2 separate regions of the Homo sapiens genome follow, and region 2 is linked to region 1. The links are contacts of gene promoters, found by promoter capture Hi-C in blood cells and fetal thymus (Javierre and others, 2016). All regions are on one chromosome and are shown on one strand. Each heading gives the region's core, a stretch centred on a gene start or on the middle of the fragment in contact. The rest is flanking DNA. Distances are from core to core; before and after follow the strand shown.

Evidence for each region. Contacts are between HindIII fragments. The CHiCAGO score rates a contact against its expected background, and 5 or more counts as called.
Region 2: a fragment that was not itself captured here is called in contact with the fragment with the promoter of IKZF5 in region 1 in 3 of 17 cell types (fetal thymus, activated CD4 T cells and naive CD4 T cells); the score reaches 8.2 in fetal thymus.

Annotation. Positions count from the first base shown.
Region 1 is chr10:123,007,400-123,010,217 of GRCh38, forward strand. IKZF5 (IKAROS family zinc finger 5) reads right to left here and starts at 1,396. Exons shown (of 5, transcript NM_001372123.1): 1 at 1,295-1,396. It overlaps ACADSB (acyl-CoA dehydrogenase short/branched chain), which reads left to right and starts at 1,607. Exons shown (of 11, transcript NM_001609.4): 1 at 1,607-1,672. The coding sequence starts at 1,631. RefSeq lists enhancers at 673-902, 1,183-1,512. The HindIII fragment of the contact is 4,856 bases long and covers 113-2,818 here.
Region 2 is chr10:124,388,073-124,390,890 of GRCh38, forward strand. No RefSeq gene overlaps it. Among named protein-coding and RNA genes, the nearest start is that of OAT, 29 kb to the right of the region's middle. RefSeq lists a silencer at 1,145-1,434. The HindIII fragment of the contact is 3,581 bases long and covers 1-2,818 here.

The DNA of each region.
Region 1 (2,818 bases), core at 146-2,645:
ACTGGTGGATTAGTTTTTGGCAAGATTTTTAATGTCTAAATTTAAGTTAAACTTCAGTTTAAAGAAATTAAGATTAACTTCATTTAGTCACAGCACACTTCCAAAACGGTCAAGCTTAGTACTGCTGAACAGCTGTAGTTGCATAAAAACAACGCATAGTCCTAAGTAGGGAAATGGGAAAGGGCTTTAAATACAAAAACAAAAAAAACATGCACACCCGATAAGGGCACATCTGAATCCCATCCTTCTTATCCTATCATAACACAAAACAGCTACGGTTTTCTGGGAAACATCCTGGACCGCTAGGGGAAAATAACACCAGACATTTCAATTCACTGTAACGAACTCTCATCAATAATAATAACCTTTAGCTGTTGTGACAACACGACATAAATCAAAATTAAATTGAATTTTTAAAATTGTTAGTTCCTACGTTTAAAAAAAAGTTGTTTTAAATACATTCTGTTCTTTCAAAACTGAATTTCCTCAGATCACACAATTTAAGACGCCTTTATGTCTTCTTCCGCTTGTCACACGTCTTTCGGGTTCTGACCAGCACATCAAGGGGACTCTAAGCAGGCCACGTGGTTAGTGTTTGCTAGAACTTGTTTAGCTTCAGATCCAGTCATCGAGCATGCTAGGCTTGGCTACTCGCGCTCCACACAGTTTATCCAAAGATCTAAACCCCGAATGAACCTGAATAGTTATTTGCTACAATGTCTTTCTCAAATCTCACATGTTCCTAAAATAAGGGTGCCCATGCAGTAGAGACGGATCCGGGCAGGATCATTAGATAAAATACGAAGGCTTTAAACGTCCTTCTCCCAACAATCAGCCTGGGACCGGCGTCGGGGCAGCAGCCTCACCAAGATTCGGAGCGACATCCTCGCCAGGATTCGAAACACCTAGGAGACCCGCGCCCGGCTGACTCCCAGCCCCTGGGACCCCGTGAAGACGCAAACCTCGGGACGCCTCCCGCAGAACCACCTGTCAGAGCCAAGCAACAGTCCCCGCCCCGGAGCCTCCGAGCTCCTGCTCGAAGGCAATGACAGCAGGAGACCCCGCTCCCTCGGGGTTCTCGCGGCCATAGGCGCCGCAGTCCACTGCCCTCCGGCTAAAGAGGTCCCGGGCCATCACCTGCCCGCCTACCGACCACGCCCGACCCTCCACTGAACTGAGTCTCCGTCCGGATCAGCCGGCCCGCCACGAACCCAGCTCCAGTCTCCGGCCGCTCCTTCTTATCCGCCCTGTCCTGCCGCGTCGCCGCCGTCCGAGCCGGCAGCCTGCTACTTACCTCCTGACAACTGCATGGAGTAAACCACACCGCCTTGTTAAATGCCGTCGCCGCCGCCGCCGTCTTCGTCACCGTCACAGTCGCCGCCGCCATCTTTGTTGTGTCTCCGACTCCCTTCCCGCCCCCCTGCCTTGCTCAAGTCTCGCGTGAGCAGGATGGAGGGCGAAAGCGAGGAGGGGCCTGTTTGTCTCTCTTGGGGTTCCGTAGGCAGCAGGGGGCAGGGATTAAGGGGGGGTGTGTGCGGGGCGGGTACTGAGTGGGCGGGGCCTTGCTCGGGTAACTCCCAGGGGCTGGCTAGAGACCCAGAGGCGCAGAGCGGAGAGGCCTGCGGCGAGGATGGAGGGCCTGGCAGTGCGGTTGCTGCGCGGCAGCAGGCTGGTGAGTGCGTTCGAGGCTGGCGTCCTGGGGGCCCAGGGCGACCTTGGCCCCTGGAATCGCAGCTGGCAGAGCCTTCTAACGGGCCTCGGGGCGCCGGCCTGAGCCCCGCTCCACGTCCTGGGTCCCCAGACTCTTTACCCGCGGGCAGTCTATGACCCCGACCCCCTTCAGGCCTCTGGTGGAGGCAGCTGGTGGCAAGGGGGTCGGGGCTGTCTAGAAGCTGCTTTGGCGGAGCAAGTACCTTGAGTGGAGTCGGAGGGTCGCGTCCGCAAGATGTCCTTTGCAGGCCGTTGCGTCCTGAGAGCCACCGAGTCTGGATCTCTGGATCTCTGGATGCATTTTGCACAGATGTCACCTCCCTGATGCCCTAACGCACCTTTCCCGAGTGATTACATTTCACACCCCCTCCCCCAAAAAAGATAGTTAAAATATAGGCCCAGTCTCATTCTGAGCAGGTGTCTCCCTGTCCTTCCTTCCGCGGCCCCGCTCAAAGGTAGTAAGGGACTTCGGAGTTGTTCGGGCTTCCCGGCCAGGGACAGAGTTCCCTCTGCCCCTTATCTCATGTCTGGAGCCTGGGTATCTTCCGTGGATAGACTCACCGCCGCCCAGGGGAGCCGGAGCCGGTGCCGGTCCCTCTTCCATGAACTTAAGCTGAAACCAGCCTCTTGTTGTGCTTAATTCTTATCTGTGCACCCACACAAACTGTTAACAGCCCCTGTGTTAACATCCTATGCTCTTCACCCCTTGGACCTATTATATAGCATGCTTTTCAGAACATACACATTTGGATACACTTGTATTTGTCAGTACACTTCACTGGGAATTTTCCCACTGCTTACGTGTGCTTTTAATGTTTCCTTTGCATTTGCTTTAATGAGTTAGGCTTTCCAACTGCTGCTTCAGTCTTATGCCCAGAGGCAGAACTCTGACCCTTTTTCTTATTAGAGATAATTAATGTTATTTGACTGTTTTACAGGCCTGAAGTGCAATAAAAAACAGTAAGTGATTATTGTTTAATACTGTTTATAATTGTTGGTTAATAACTTAGCAAAGAAAATTTCTTTGGTTTTACAATTTGACTCTGTTTTAGAGCCAAAATTTATTGACCGCATACTCTGTGGTAGGCACGTTCTCGTTCTACCTGAG
Region 2 (2,818 bases), core at 97-2,596, 1.4 Mb after region 1:
GCTCACGCCTGTAATCCCAGCACTTTGGGAGGCCGAGGTGGGCGGATCACCTGAGGTCAGGAGTTCGAGACCAGCCTGACCAATATGATGAAACCCCATCTCTACTAAAAATACAAAAATTGGCCGGGCCTGGTGGCATGCGCCTGTAATCCCAGCTACCTGGGAGGCTGAGACAGGAGAAACGCTTGAACCCAGGAGGTGGAGGCTGCAGTGAGCCAAGATCCTGCCATTGCACTCCAGCCTGGGCAACAAGAGTGAAACTCTGTCTCAAAAACACACACACACACACACACACACAGGTTTACACATTTCTTTGGGTCTTCATTTCCTTATGAAGGCTCCTGCATCCGGTAAAAATTATATTAAATAAATGTGTATGTTATTCTCTTGTTATATGAGTCCCAGGCAGGAACCTAGGACGGTGAGGAAAAGCTCTTTCTCCTCCTATGGCATCCACACACCCAGGGCCTGCCACTCCTGCCCAGCCCAGGACCGTCACTATCTCAGTGACCAGTGGACAGGGCTCAGCAGGGCCACACGGATCAAGGTGGGCCCCAGCCAGGCAGAGACCAGGCCCCGCATCCTCCCACCCCCTGCACAACTTCGGTCCCCCAATCACCAGGGCAGGTATGAGTAAGGCCATTGCACAGTGGCAAAAACTGAGGCCCGCAAGGGCCCAAGGACCACCACTCAGATCCCTCCGGGCACAGCCCAGCCAGGAGCTCCGGGCAGAGTCCCGGGAGGCCCTGCCCACAGGGTCAGAGCGCCCCTGCCCCCGGCCCAACGGATGCGCCTGTCCAGGATCACCACCTGTCAAGCTCGCTGCAGCGCGGGAGGTGGGGTGGACCCTTCCCTGCCCCGGAGCCCACACCTCTGCACGGTGAACCGAGGCGCTCCGACGGGTGCGCGGACAGCACCTGGCACTGAGGAGGTGAACGTGACTCCCACACACGCGGGACTGAACCAGCGCCCCAGAGTCCCCAGAACACGCATGGGCCCGCGGGGCCGCAGCCCACGCCCGGGACAGCCGCCCGCAGTCTACGCAGGGAGGGGCCGCGGGGCTCTGGTTTCTGCAAGTTCTGAATTGTCTCCAAGGAGCATATTCCAACGTCAGAATAATAAACTTTTACAGAACTGTATTGCTCTGCAGCGCGCGGGGGGACTCGGCCCAGCGAAGAGCGAGCGCCCTACAGGCCTCGGCGGAGGAGGGCACGGTCCCCAGCGCGGCTCCTGGCCCCGCCCACGGCCCCGCCCCAGCTCCCGAGCCCCGGCCTCGCGCACGCGCATCTCGCGGGCTCGCAGGACGGCCGGGAAGCAACGCTTTGCGGGCAGCGCCCCCTGCCGTCCCAACGCGCGTGGGGCCCTATGGCTGCGAGCAGTTCCGGCCAAAAGCCCCAGGACCCGGACTTGGGGTTATTGACTTGCGCGTGGGCGCTGAGTCTTGGAGGGGAGGGGACAACTCGCCACACCCCCGTCCTCTCCCTGGAGCTCGAAGCCCCTTTCTGCTGAAATGGGGCCTCCTTTTCTCGGGAAACTGACTTTGGGGGAAACTAAGTCTCAAGGGGATCTTAAAACCCAAGACGGGGGAATGGGAACCTCACAGGACGTGGGGGCGCTTTTCTGGCCATCTCTATATAAAACCTGCCGGGGGCCTCAGACCCTGGCTCCTCTGTCAGTTCCCAAGACCCGTCGCGCGCCCACCTGAGCCCGGTGCCCACTGGATGGGGGCTCAGGCTCACCTGGTCAGTCCTCACCCCCACCTCCAGAGACCAGGCAGTCATGCCCTTCTAATATGGCGGAGGTCCCAAAAGATTATACCATATTTTTACTGTGCCTTTTCTGTGTTTAGCTATGCAAATACTTAGCATTGTGTCGTAGCAGGCTGTGCCATCTAGGTTGTGTAAGTACACGCCATGATGTTCACATAACGAGAAAATCGCCAAAGGACGCATTTCTCAGAACATACACCTGTTGTGAAACCACCCGTGACTGTTCTGTCCTAATTCAACCCCCTCATTCGATAAAGGACAGAGAGGCATTGAGTTGCCAGAGGTCATCCTGGTTGTCAGAGGCAAAAGCAAAACCGAAGCTCTGAGCCTCGCAGCAACCACCCACGCCACCGCCTCCCGTCATCATCAGGAGGCCTCCCCAGGTTTCTGTCCCAGGGAGCGCAGCCGGTGGACAAGTCCCTTCCGCTCTCTGAGCCTCCAGTAACATGAAAACACTGGCAGGAGACCCTCCATGATTCCAGGATTCCTAGAACACTGGCAGGACACCCTCACCCGGTGATCACTCCCAGGTCACCCCACTGAAAGCCGGCAGCTTTCTGTATGGTCTGCATCCATGTTTTTCTATTTCTCCCAGGAGTAATTACTCCATTTGTTCACAGGTACACGGCTTGGCACTCAGGGGCCATAAATTAAAGAGATGTTGTGATAAAAAGGAAGGCAGGAGAGAGTAGGGGCTGGTGGATCCCACTTGCCCTTCACTGCCGGTCTCAGAGACTGGCCTAGGAGAAAGCCACCAAGATCAAAGGCCCCCAGACCCTGCATCCCCATGGATGTGCAAGCCTGAGCTGTCGGTGGTCCTCCCGAACCCTGCCTTGAGCCATGCTTGGCTATTCCACACAAGGCTTATTTGCAGCAATCATCTGCTGGGCTCTTAAGTATTGTGATGCAAATTATAAAAGCCATTTTAGTTCAGATATCTCATTAACAATTTGAAGGGCTAGGCTGATGTATAGAGAAAAAATCTCATTTGCAAGTTAATCAAAATAAAGGCTGGGGAGCTAATAAACCTCCTCTGAGCCATTATACAT